Regions from separate parts of the Homo sapiens genome. Here region 2 is linked to region 1. The links are contacts of gene promoters, found by promoter capture Hi-C in human tissues and cell types (Jung and others, 2019). All regions are on one chromosome and are shown on one strand. The core of a region is centred on a gene start or on the middle of the fragment in contact, and the rest is flanking DNA. Distances in the headings are between cores, read along the strand shown. Region 1 holds the start of IFI30 (IFI30 lysosomal thiol reductase). Region 2 holds the start of UPF1 (UPF1 RNA helicase and ATPase).

Region 1 (6,244 bases), core at 2,574-5,073:
GGGCTGCACATATTCCCAAGTCTGGCCCCCGCCTCCCGCCTCGCAAATCAGTGGCACATCTTTCCCAATGGGGGTGGCTAGGGATGTTTAATACTTCGAATTAATACATACTTTTTTTGCCTGATGGACTCCTACTCACCTTTCAAAACCCCAGCATCAATGCCCTCTTTCCCTATGCAAAGCTATCAAGTTTTGCTCTTGTTGCCCAGGCTGGAGTGCAGTGGCATGATCTCAGCTCACTGCAACCTCCGCCTGGGTTCCTTTATCTCTGGTCCCTCTGTCTTGTCCATCCCTGACTCCATGGGACTATGAGTGTCAAGCTGAGGGCTAAAAAGATTCTTACCCCATTGACGGTGACCCAGGGCACATACTCGTGTGGTGGCTGGAGAGCATCTGTCCGCTGGGCGTTGGCGTGCATGAGCTGCATGCCGCGGTCCCCCATTGCACACTCCATGATAGTGTCTGGCGACAGCCCTGGGGCGTAGAGCTGCAGGCACTGGGTGGGTGGGGAGCAGGGGGTTGCCTCAGCTTCCTCCCCGTTATCTCAACGGTCCCGCCCACCAGCCCTGAGCCAAGCCTGTTTCGTCACTGAGAAGAGGGTACAGTTGGCTTCACAGTGATGCGACAAAGCCCACAAACAGCAGGTGCTCAATACATGCTTGAGTGGAGGCCCCTAAGGCAGGGCTTGGGCTGCTCCTGCCTCCTAGCTCCCTTGGTTTCATCCCTAAGACCAGACCCACTGCCTCTGACCCCCATAGTATCTCACTTTACTCAGGACCTCCACACAGGCTGATCCCTCTGCCAGGAACACCCTTCATCCTCCTTCCACAGTGTCTCCTCAGTGCCCTCTCCTTGCCACTCTCTCAGCCCTGATCTAACCCTGCAGGACTAGGGTGTCACTAGGTGAGGCCTCTTGGGTGACCCGGATGTTTGATGAATGAATAAATGATTGGAGCCAATGAGTCACTTCTCTGGGAGTCATTCTTCACAATCCCCCGGGGAAGTAGGTGGGGTCTGTCCTATCATCTCCACATCCCATCATCTGTGTCTCTGCACATTCCTGCTCATCCTTCCATGCCCAGCTCAGAAATGCCTCCTCCAGTAAGTCCTCTGTGATCACTCATGCTCCTAAGAGACCTGCATTCATTCCCCTGATTCAGAGATGGAGGCTTCAAGAGGGGAGGCTGGGGCCGGGCGTGGTGGCTTACACCTGTAATCCTTTGGGAGGCTGGGACAGGCGGATAACTTGAGGTCAGGAGTTTGAGACCAGCCTGGCCAACATGGTGAACACTGTCTCTACTAAAAATACAAAAATTAGCCGGGCATGGTGGTGCACACCTGTAGTCCCAGCTACTGGGGAAGCTGAGGCAGGAGGATCACTTAAACTGAGGAGACAGTGGTTGCAGTCAGCCAAGATTGCACCACTGCACTCCAGCCTGGGCGACAGAGCAAAACCCTGTCTCAAAAAAAAAAAAAAAAAAAAAAAAAAAAAAAGGGCTGGGTGCGGTGGCTCACGCCTGTAATCCCAGCACTTTGGGAGGCCAAGGCAGGCGGATCACAAGGTCAGGAGTTCAAGACAAGCCTGACCAACATGGTGAAACCCTGTCTCTACTAAAAACACAAAAATTAGCTGGGCATGGTGGCACACAACTGTAATCCCAGCTACTCAGGAGGCTGAGGCTGGAGAATCACTTGAACCCTGGAGGTGGAGGTTGCAGTGAGCTGGGATTGCGCCACTGCATTCCAGCCTGGGCGACAGAGCGAGACTCTGTCTCAAGAAAAAATAAAAAAATAAATAAAATAAAGAAGGGTAGTTGTTTTCCTGGGCTGCACAGACAGCAGTGGTCAGGGCTAGGACTTGAATTTGGGTCTGCCTGGATGCAGGGAAGGTTACCACCCATGTCCCCCTCCTTGGGTGGAGTGAGGGGCGTCACTCACTAGTGGCAGACTTCTCTCCATGTCCTCAAACTCTTCCATGCAGACAATGGTCAGGAAGGCTAGCTCCATGTCAAGTTCATCCAACACGCAGGCCTGGGGTTTGGAGAGGGGGCAGGAGAGGGCATGAAGAGGGCCTAGGGTACCCTGACACCCTCTCGTAATAATCACCAGTACCCACCCAGGAGATAGGGAATAAAGATGTGATTAAATGGGAGCACACGAGGCAGAAGACAGAGCTGGCATCCTCGTATTTGCCTCCTGTACGTGGGACAGTTTTCCCCCACCCCAGTGTGGGGCCCTGGGGCCGCTCACCTCCACCTTGTTGAATTTGCACTCCTCTTCTCCATGCTGGCACTTGAACTCCCACCTGCCACTGACATTTTGTTCCTGCAAGGCAGCAGGGTGAGAGCCTGCTGGTAGGCTGGGTCCCCTGCTCCCCTGCCCACGTGCCTCAGTTTCCCCAGCGCCCACACACCTGTGCGTTTCCGTAGGGCACCAGCGTGACATTGAGGATCTCCATGACCAACAGCCATGTTGGGAAGAGCTCCCGGATCAGGAAGGCTCGGCAGCCACCGCACAGTGCTTCATAGTAGAGGGTCACATTGACAAGCGGTGCATTGGACTTCTTCAGGGGCCCCCGCAGGTATAGATTGCCTGTCTGTGGATTAGGAAGGCGTGGGAGGCAGGTGTAGCCCTGGGCAGTTCCCCACTTCTCTCAACCCCACTTGGTAGTCTTGTAGAAAGGGGGCTGTGATACGCAATTCATCTTGCACGCCTTCCAGAACTTGCCAGGTGGAATCTTGACTTTGAGACTTTTTTTTTTTTTTTTGAGATGGAGTCTCACTGTCGCTAGGCTGGTGTGCTGCGGCACGATCTCGGCTCACTGCAACACCCGACTCCCTGGTTCAAGCAATTGTCCTGCCTCAGCCTCCTGAGTAGCTGGGATTATAGGCACATGCCACCACACCCAGCTAATTTTTGTATTTTTAGTAGAGACAGGGTTTCTCCATGTAGGCCAGAATGGTCTCGAACTCCTGACCTCGTGATCTGCCTGCCTCAGACTTCCAAAGTGTTGGGATTACAGGCATGAGCCACCGCCTCCGGCCTTGGCCCATGCTCATTTCTTGTCACTTCACCTGGAGACCTTGCCTCTGAGCTGAGCAAGGGATCCACGTGAACCCTTTCCAAGTCCGACTGAATAGAGGCGGCACCTAATAGGTGCTGACTTCCGGCTTCAGCTGAGGGGTGGCGGGTGGCCCATGTCGCTGGAGCGGTGAGCAAGTCGCTCAGCCTCTAGGGCATCTGCCTAATAGGTCCCAAAGACACGCGAGCCCTGCCCTGGCTGGAATGAATGCATCAAGGGTAGCAGCAAGAATGCATGCCGGCGGCCCTTGGCCAGCTGCTGAACTTGTGCCCTGGGCCACAAAAGGAGACCCCAGCTCCTGCCCCAAAAGTACACAGTAGGCGCTCATTGAACCCTTGGGCGGGACTAGGCGGGTGGAGGCAGCTGCGCCTCTCAGATGCGGGATGCGAAAGCGAAACGGCACGGAGGGAGTGTGGCCGCAGCGCCGGGAACTGAACAGGGTTTTTCCAGGAACCCGGCAGGGACAGCGTCCCCTCGGGGCCCTGGTCTTCCCCTGTGAAGTCTGGGGAGAAAGAAGGAGCCGCGTGCCCCGACAGGGCGCCTGTTCCCTCCAGCCTGCCCGCCCTGTCGCCGTCCCTACCTTGTAGTTAACTGGTGGCCCATTCCCAAAGAAGTCTAACGCTTGCAGAGGGGACGCCTGCACCGCCGCCGTGGGGACGTCCAGCAGCAGCAGCAGCGGTGGCAGGAACAGCAGAAGTGGCGACAGGGTCATCGCAGCAGGGGCAAAGGTGTGGCGACTGCAGCGGCTGCCTGGGAAATAAGCGCCTTTAACCAGGCGGCGGTCCCGCCCCTAACCCGGGCCCGCCTCCCGATGCCCACGCCCCTCGGGTCCCGGGCCAGCGTCTCTCCCTCCTCCACTCCTTCCTCTGAGTGTCCCACCCCCACCCCTGCCAGGTGCTGGGTCCCCAGTCACGAGGCCATTGGGCCCCTTGGCAATCAGCCCTGCCCAGGCACGTGAGCCCTGGCGCAAGACTACCTTTAGGGGAGGTGAGGTGGGGCCTTTGAGACAGACACAGGCTGAGAGGAATGGTGGTGTCTCCACGCACCCCTAGACCTTCTAGGGGCGGCTAGGGGACTTGAGGCCCGAGACCCACTCTCAGAGTGGGCCTGTGACCTAACAGGGGTGACGTCGGATGGAGGCTGGGGATGGGATGGAGGCCGGGGTTTTGGGGGAGTAACTGAAATATTCAGGCCCCCGAGAGTGGGCAAGGCCTGTGTGGCCAGGTCTCCTCCCTCCAGTCTCGCCCGTGACCTCCCTCACACCCAACCCCCACATCCTGCCCCTCAACCCTTCCCCCCTCAAACTCCTGACCCCGACGCTCCAGACCCCTCACCGTGGTCCCGTGGGACTGACTCAGGCTTGACCACAGCCACGCCGGAAAGCAGAAGCTGGCGCAGGGAGTGGCGTGTCATTTCTCTAGGGTACCCACCCAGCCCCACTTCTGGCTTGGGGTGAAGAGAACTGGCCTTCCTTCTTTTCATCGTTCAAGGCTTGTGGGGGGTGGGGGGCAACCTGGCCTTCAAGGGACGCCCATGGGGGAGAGAGGCAGCCTGTGCTGTCTGGGATAGGGGTGGGGTGGCTTGGAGTCCACCTGGCTTTGGATTTGAGTGACAGAGCCTCAGCTTTCCCTTCTGTGTAATGGGGAGAAGGATAAGGTTTGGGGAACAAGAGTCACCATGGAGGGCTCAGAGGCAGGTGGGGGAGAGTTGTCCCAGGCTGGGGCTTCTGGATGGCATGGTCAGGCCTTGGTGCCTACACAGGACAGTGGCCCCAACAGTGAAGGCAGAGAGAATAGCCTGGAAAAAAGGCCCAGATGGAGGCTGGAGTGTTGGGGGAATAACTGAGACATTCCAACCCTGCCAGGCCTTACATTCAGGGCAAGACACATCGGATCCTAGGGAAGAAAATGTCCCACACCCAGCTGGAAGATATACCTGAGTCCCCAGCTGTGCCCCCCTCTAGTTGTGGGGAAGACCCTGGCCACACACACAGTAGCTGGTTTGGGAGCCGGAGCTTCTCTGAAGTCCCAGTGGCTGGATGGTCCCCGAGCCCATCCCTCAGACGACCAAACCGTTGGCAAAGGCTCCCCAAGACTCACCACCCCAACTTTGGTGCTTACCCTATGCCGGGTGGGATTGAAGAAATAACCATAAATATAATTGCTACAATTTTTCCAGTAGTTACCAGGCACCAGCCCTATTGGAAGAAATCATAAATGTAACCCTACAATGTATTGCTCTCTGGCTTGGTGCCAGGCATAGAGTGGGCCTACAACCCATTTTATCATTGAACCCTCAGAAGCATCCAGTTGGGGCTGGGGGTAGGTGCTACTGACTCCAGCTGGTAACAAATAAATGGCTGATCAGAGAGGGAAGGCTATTTTGCCAAGGACACACAGCCAGTGGTTGAGTGTTTTTAGAGACCACACGGGATATTCTCTTCCACCCCCAGCTCAGCATAGCTGGGATCATAAAGATGGCAACCTTTCTCCTGTGAGCACCTATGCAGTGAGAGGCACAATCTGGGCTGGAGTTATTTATGGGTTATCTCCAGACAGGACACATGGCAGGGACAGTGCCTGGCAAGGCTAGGGGGCTCTGAGGCTAAGGGAGGCAGGTCCTGTCCCAAGGTCCCAGCAGTAGACTGGGTCAGAGTGGAGGTTTCTTTCTGCACTTGCCCCAGGTTCAGCCTTGTTGGGCCTTGAGAGGTGGCTGTACAAAACAGACAAGGACAGTGAGGCCCCAGGGTTGGGGAGGGCTGAAGGGACAATGACGTCGCAGTGGGGGTGTGGATTCTGGGTGTGATGGGGAGGGTGGTAAACAGGAGTCCAAGTCAAAGACGCCATGAGGCCACGCGTGGTGGCTTACGCGACTCAGGGAGGCTGAGGTGGGAGGATCACTAGAGGCCAGGAGTTTGAGACCCACCTGGAAAAGGGCAAGACCCTTTTTTTTTTTTTTTTTCTTGAGACAGAGTCTCACTCTGTCACCCAGGCTGGAGAACAGTGGCACGATCTTGGCTTGGTGCAGCGTTGACCTCCCAGGTTCATCTGATCTTCCTATCTCAGCCTCCCAAGTAGCTGGGATTACAGGCATGCGCCACCATGTCTGGCTAATTTTTTTTTGTATTTTTAGTGGAGACCAGGTTTTACCATGTTGGCCAGG
Region 2 (6,244 bases), core at 2,276-4,775, 660 kb before region 1:
TGTAATCCCAGCTACTGGGGAGGCTGAGGCAGGAGAATCGCTTGAACCTGGGAGGCACAGGTTGCAGTGAGCCAAGATCACGCCACTGCACCCCAGCCTGGGCAACAGAGCGAGACTCTGTCTCAAAAAAAAAAAAGGAATGAAATGATGACACATACCACAGCGTGGATGAACCTCGATCAGGTTCATTTTCCTGAATGCTCGGCCAGGGAACAGCTACGAAGCTCACCTTGTAGCTACTTCTCACACATCACGCAGAGTGAAAGGAGCCAGACACAAAACACCATATATGATATGATTCCGTTGATGTGAAATGCCCAGAACAGGCACATCTTGAGACAGAAAGCAGGTGAGTGGTTGCCAGGGGCTGTGGAGGTAGGACGGATGGGCTAAGGGGTGCAGGGTTTATCTCTGGGGTGACAAAAATGTTCTAAAGTTTACTGTGGTAATGGCTGCACAACTCTGAATATACTAAATAAAAGCCGCCGAACTGTACACTTTATATGGGTAAATTGTATGTTGTGGCAAGTGAATTCTATTTCAATAAAGCCGCTAAGCAAAAGTGACTGCAGGGCACTTGACAGCTGATAGCCACTTCCCCAGTAAAATAAAAATTAAAAAAGCAGAATGAGAGTTTCCAGGAGCCCCCAACTTAACAGCTGGTTACACGGCCAACTCCTGAGGACAAACAGGGAAAGTCTTCCCAAATATCTTAGCAGACACTGCCTTCAATTCACACAAGAGATAACTTTCTTCCGCTTTCCCTTGAATGATATTCATAGACTTCCTTGCCCCCAAATTCCGTTCTTCCCCTTGTGATGCAAAGGGGTACCACTCCCATTCCCCACAAACAAATCCAAATTACAGGTAACAGGTGGGTGGGGCATCTGGGTCAATTACAAGTAGCACAGGACAAACCCTCTGATGTCGTCAGAATTCTAGTGAGCTCAACTGCAATGTTTACCTCCAGGGGAGCGTTTTAATGCTCTCCTTTTGTACAGCCCAGTGTGTTCAGGTGCAGGAAAAAAAATCAATTGTTTCAACTGAAAGAGAAGGACATGCCCCACAATTAATCCCAAACGGAATGCCAGAAACAAAAGCAGAACTAAAGGCTGCCCCAGGTTTGCTGTTTTATGCTCGCTACAGTTAAAAGGATTCACAAGAAAATGATTACCTTTCACACCCAGCCAACCCCCCGATCCGCGCTGTCACGCTCATGGCTCACTGCTCCACAGAGATCTTTACCGAGTCTCCCCGACAGGCTGGACGTCAGATTACAGACAGCGTATACAGTCGACTCACACATGGATCTAGGTTTCCTTTATGTTTAAAAGGAATAAAAATCTAACTGCCACCCCCATTTCACAGCTGCGGAAGCAGAAAGGTCTACAGGGCATGAAAACTACAAGGAGGTGGGGCCTCCGCAGCTCAGACTCCCTTCTTCAGGAGAACTCTCCTCTCTCCCTCCCTCCCTTCGCAAAATGTAAACAAAACTGAAAAAAACACCCATACGTGCACACCTGTTCTCCTCACACCCCACCTTCTATTTTAAGGAATATGGGGTTAGAATGAGTCAAATGTTTTTTGCTTCCATTAGGGGCTAAAAGAAAGCCCAAGTGGGTGGTCTACCCACGAGAGTGACTCAATCGACTACCACGTAAGCCCCCCATGCAAGGACAGGGTCTGAGCTCACTCTGGATGAGCAAGGAGTGGTTCCCCCAGTTCTGAAACACCAGCATATGCCAAGGGACACCTGTGCCAAGGTAAGCCTCGGAGCTTCTTCCTGTCGGAGCATTCAGGAAAACAAACCTGAGCGAGAGGTCAGGCACAAAGCAAGCCTAAGGTGAAAGCAACCTGAAATCCAGAGGGTGATGAGGACATTCCCCAGGACCCCGGTGCAACACGCGCCACCCCCCCAGCCCCTCTCCCACCCCAGGCAAGCAGCGCCCAGGACCAGGAAATGCATGCCCGATACTTCTCCCAACCCAAGCCCCCATTTAAAATACCTAAGTAACCTTCTCTAAACATCCACATCATTAAAAATAAGTTTCCAACGTGGCAGACTCGTTTATGTAAAGCCATTATTGCTGTCTTATTGGAAGAACAAAACTCAAACCCAACTTTTCCAAGGCAAGAGTTGTGAAGTTATGTAACAGGTCGGTTTCAGCAACAGGCGATGCAAGAAAAAACAAAATACAACCTGCTTCCTGAATGATCTTAATAGCCAGCCAATATGTGCTCCTCCATGGGAGGCAAAAATTCTTCTCTGCCTCAACCTTCCGCTGGCCAGCGCCCCTATGCATGGGGAAAGTCGAACCTACGCTCCGTGACTGTGAAAGGTGGGGTGCCCAGATGGCTGCGACCACAGATGGGAGGTGGGACAGGCGGCCAGACCCACCAATGGGGAGACCGGGCAGGACCCCCGGACCAGGCCAGAGACAGGATTAGGGCAGGTCACCCTGGATACTCCCGGAAAGGGACTGAGGGAAGTCACTCAAGCTCCGGCCTGAGCAAGACCCGGCCCAGGTCGTAGGAGAACTCGAGGCAGAATACCGAGACCTGCGAAAGAGGGACCAGGGCAGGTCACCCTAGCCCGGATGGAATGGAAGAACTCAGATAAGTCAGGGGGCAGGTTACTCCAGGCCAGACTGATTGTGGGACACAAGGCAGGTCAGCCCGGGCCCAGGAGGGGGAGCAAACCCAGCTGGCGTAAAGGAACAGGGTCAGGTTAGCTCGGTCCCGAACGAAGTGGAGGACTCGAGGCAAGTCTGCCCGGCCCAGGAGTTGGGGGCCGAAGGAACTCAGCCAGGTCGCGGCCGGAGCGGGGGACCCGGGGCAGATCAGGCCAGGCCCGGGCAGATTGCAGGACCTGGGGCAGGTAAGCTCAGGCCGAGCCAGAGTAGGGGACCCGGGGCAGATCGCCCCAGGCCCGGCCGCGATGGGGGACTCCGGCCAAACACAGGCCGGGCCCGAGGCGAGTTCGGGGCAGGTCTCAGGCGCCGAGGCCGGGCCCGGGCTTCCGGCACCGCCATGTGCCGCTCACCTGCGCGTCGAGCTGTCCCGCCGCAGCGCCCGCGCCCGCGCCGCCCGGGCCTCCCGCGCCGCCACCGCCCGGGCCGCCGGGGCCGCCGGGGGGCGTCTGCGTCTGGCTAGGAAGAGTAAAGTCGGTGAACTCGAACTCGGAGCCCTGTGTGTCGGCGCCAAGCAGCTCGGCCTCCTCCGTGTCCAGGAAAGTGAGAGTCTGCGAGCTGGGCCCGTACGCCTCCACGCTCATGGTGCCTCCGGGTAGGGCCCTCGGGCCGGTTCCGCGCTGCACTCGAGCCCGCCGCCGCGCTGAGGCCTAGGCCGCAGGCCTCGGGTCGCTGCCGCTGTCGCCCCCGCGCGCCCGGAAAGGACCAAACCGCGCGCCCCGGCGCCAGCCGGACCGAGAGGTAACAGTGCCGAGCCGCCGCCGCTGCCGCCGAGCCCCTCCGCGCCTCAGCTCCCCTCGAAGCCGCCAGCCGCTCGCAGCCTAGAGCAGGAACTGCCGCCACCGCCGCCGTCGCCGTGCGCGTGCGCGAGCCCGACGCCGGCGGAAGCGCGCGCGCTCTTCGCGGGCGCCTGGTGCCCAGCAGGAAGACGGGACGCGCACCGCGCACGCGCAGGGGGTGGGGCTTTCAACCGCCGCTGCGGCGGCAGCTCGAGGACTTGGTCCCGCCCCAACTGCTAATTGGGGACGCCCGGGCGGCTGGCGGTGTGGACTTGGTGGTCTGCACCTGTGGTCGCTGCGACGGTGTTTCGGTTTAATTGAGCGCTAGCCGAATACCCTACATAGGTGGTCTCGGAACGCCCAACTGGAGAGACTGGGCAGGGACGGTGCGCTCCCACTCCTGGCAAAAGCTGCTTGGAACTCAGTTTCCCCATCTGTAAAATGGAGGGTGCCTCGCACATAGTAGATGCTCCCTGTGCATTGGTTTAAAAAGGGAGTGGGGCTCGGCGCGGTGGTCACACCTGTAATCCCAACACTCAGAGGCTGAGGCGGGAGAACTGCTTGAACTCAGGAGTTCGAGACCAGCCTGGGAGACAGAGTGAGACTCCATCTCTACAAAAAATATAAAAATTAGGCCGAGCGCGGTGGCTCACGCCTGTAATCCCAGCACTTTGGGAGGCCGAGGCGGGTGGATCATGACGTCAGGAGATCGAGACCATCCTGGCTAACATGGTGAAACCCCGTCTCCACTAAAAATACAAAAAATTAGCCAGGCGTGGTGGCACGAGCCTGTAGTCCCAGCTACTCAGGAGGCTGAGGCAGGAGAATCGCTTGAACCCAGGAGGCGGAGGTTGCAGTGAGCCAAGATTGTGCCACTGCACACCAGCCTGGGCAACAGAGTGAGACTCTGTCTCAAAAAAAAAAAAAAAAATTAGCTAAGCGTGGTGGTTCGCACCTGTAGTCCCAGCTACTAGGGAGGCTGAGGTGGGAGGATCGCTTGACCCTGGGAAGTTGAGGCTGCAGTAAGCCGAGATTGCACCACTGCACTCCAGCCTGGGTGACAGAGCGAGACCCTGTCTCAAAAATAAGTAAAAATAAATGAATGGGGATAGTCTTACGTACTGGGCCTGGCACTTGGAAATGATGGTTGCTGCTGTTCCTGATGCCTCTGCCACTGTTATTATACCATTACTATTTTTGCTATGATTATTATTTAGTGGACGTATACAGCAAAACAACTGGAAGCACATGGTCTGTGGTGGACTCTAGACCTGACCACTTACCAGCTGTGTGAAATTATACAAGTGACTTAACCTCTCTGAGCCTAGGGTTTCTGTTGCCATTAAGGTGGCATAGGAAGCCTGGGCAAGGTGGCTCTTTCCTGAAATCCCAGCACTTTAGGAGGTAGAGGCAAGAGAATCACTTGAGCTCAGGAGTTTGAGGCTGCGGTGAGCTATGATTGTGCCACTGCACTCCAGCCTGGGTGACAGAGATCCTATGTGTGTGTGTGTATATTAATATATATTTATTTATGTTAATATAAATAGAGTGACTAGTAGCTCATTTATTCCTCTCATACTCTCATGTGATATATGGTTGCTGCTGATATATATGGAGCCCGGTGCGGTGTGTCACGCCTGTAATCCCAGCACTTTCGGAGGCCAAAAGAGCAAGACCTTGTATAAAAATAAATTTTAAAAACTCTGATAGGTGTTACTAAATTGATCTGAAATTTGTCTACAAATTCCACTGGATGTGTTCCAAAGAGAGCTTTGCATGATATTAAAATTATCTGTTGGTCTGTCAGTATTCCCCCTTAAACTGTGCCTTCTTGGAGAGGGAGACCTACTTTTATTCATTGTTTATATTCCTACAGTTTAGTGCATGCTAGGAGCCCCCCCCGAAATGTTATTTTTATTTTTTATTTTTTGTAGAGATGGGGGTTTTGCTGTTTCCTAGGCTGGTCTTGTACTCCTGACCTCAAGTAATCGTCCCACCTCAATCTTCCAAAGAGCTGTGATTATAGGTATGAGCCACTATGTCTTGTCCCTGAAAAAGAGTGAAGAAGGCTGTGGCTCACACCTGTAATCCCAGCACTTTGGGAGGCAGAGGCAGGTGGATCACCCAAGGTCAGGAGTTCGAGACCAGCCTGGCCAACGTGGTGAAACCCCGTCTCTACTAAAAATACAAAAATTAGCCGGGTATGGTGCGTGCCTGTAATCCTAGCTACTTGGGAGGCTGAGGCAGGAGAACTGCTTGAACCCAGGAGGCGGAGGCTGCAGTGAGCCAACATTGCACCACTGCACTCCAGCCTGGGTGACAGAGCGAGACTCCGTCTCAAAAAAAAAGTGTATATATATATATATATATATATATATATATATATATATATATACATATATATATATGTATATATATATATGATGTATATTATATATCTCACTGTATATATGAGAGGAATAAATGAGCTACTAGTCACTTTATTATATATATAGAGAGAGTGCGCGTATATACATATATATACACACTGTATATATAAGAATAAGTGAGCTACTAGTCACTCTATTATATATAGAGACAGAGATAGACAGTGCGTGTATATACATATATATACACACTGTATATATAAGAATAAATGAGCTACTAGTCACTCTATTATATATAGATAGGGAGTGTGTGTGTGTATATATATATACACTCTATCTCTCTCTCTCTGTGTGTATATATATATATATATATATATGAGAGGAATAAATGAGCTACCAGTCACTCTCT

Evidence for each region. The method cuts DNA at HindIII sites, captures the fragments that hold promoters and counts their contacts. A contact is called where the count stands out against the background at its distance.
Region 2: a contact is called between the fragment with the promoter of UPF1 here and the fragment with the promoter of IFI30 in region 1, in 3 of the 25 tissues and cell types used here (adrenal gland, bladder and thymus).

What each region holds. Positions count from the first base shown.
Region 1 is chr19:18,171,392-18,177,635 of GRCh38, reverse strand. It overlaps IFI30 (IFI30 lysosomal thiol reductase), which reads right to left and starts at 3,823. Exons shown (of 7, transcript NM_006332.5): 1 at 3,663-3,823; 2 at 2,414-2,596; 3 at 2,251-2,325; 4 at 1,939-2,031; 5 at 344-496. The coding sequence starts at 3,794. RefSeq lists enhancers at 2,596-3,261, 3,389-3,458 and a silencer at 3,769-4,078. The HindIII fragment of the contact is 16,563 bases long and covers 1-6,244 here.
Region 2 is chr19:18,829,240-18,835,483 of GRCh38, reverse strand. It overlaps UPF1 (UPF1 RNA helicase and ATPase), which reads right to left and starts at 3,525. Exons shown (of 24, transcript NM_002911.4): 1 at 3,044-3,525. The coding sequence starts at 3,274. RefSeq lists an enhancer at 778-1,330 and silencers at 2,912-2,991, 3,002-3,091, 3,242-3,341, 3,462-3,721. The HindIII fragment of the contact is 23,837 bases long and covers 1-6,244 here.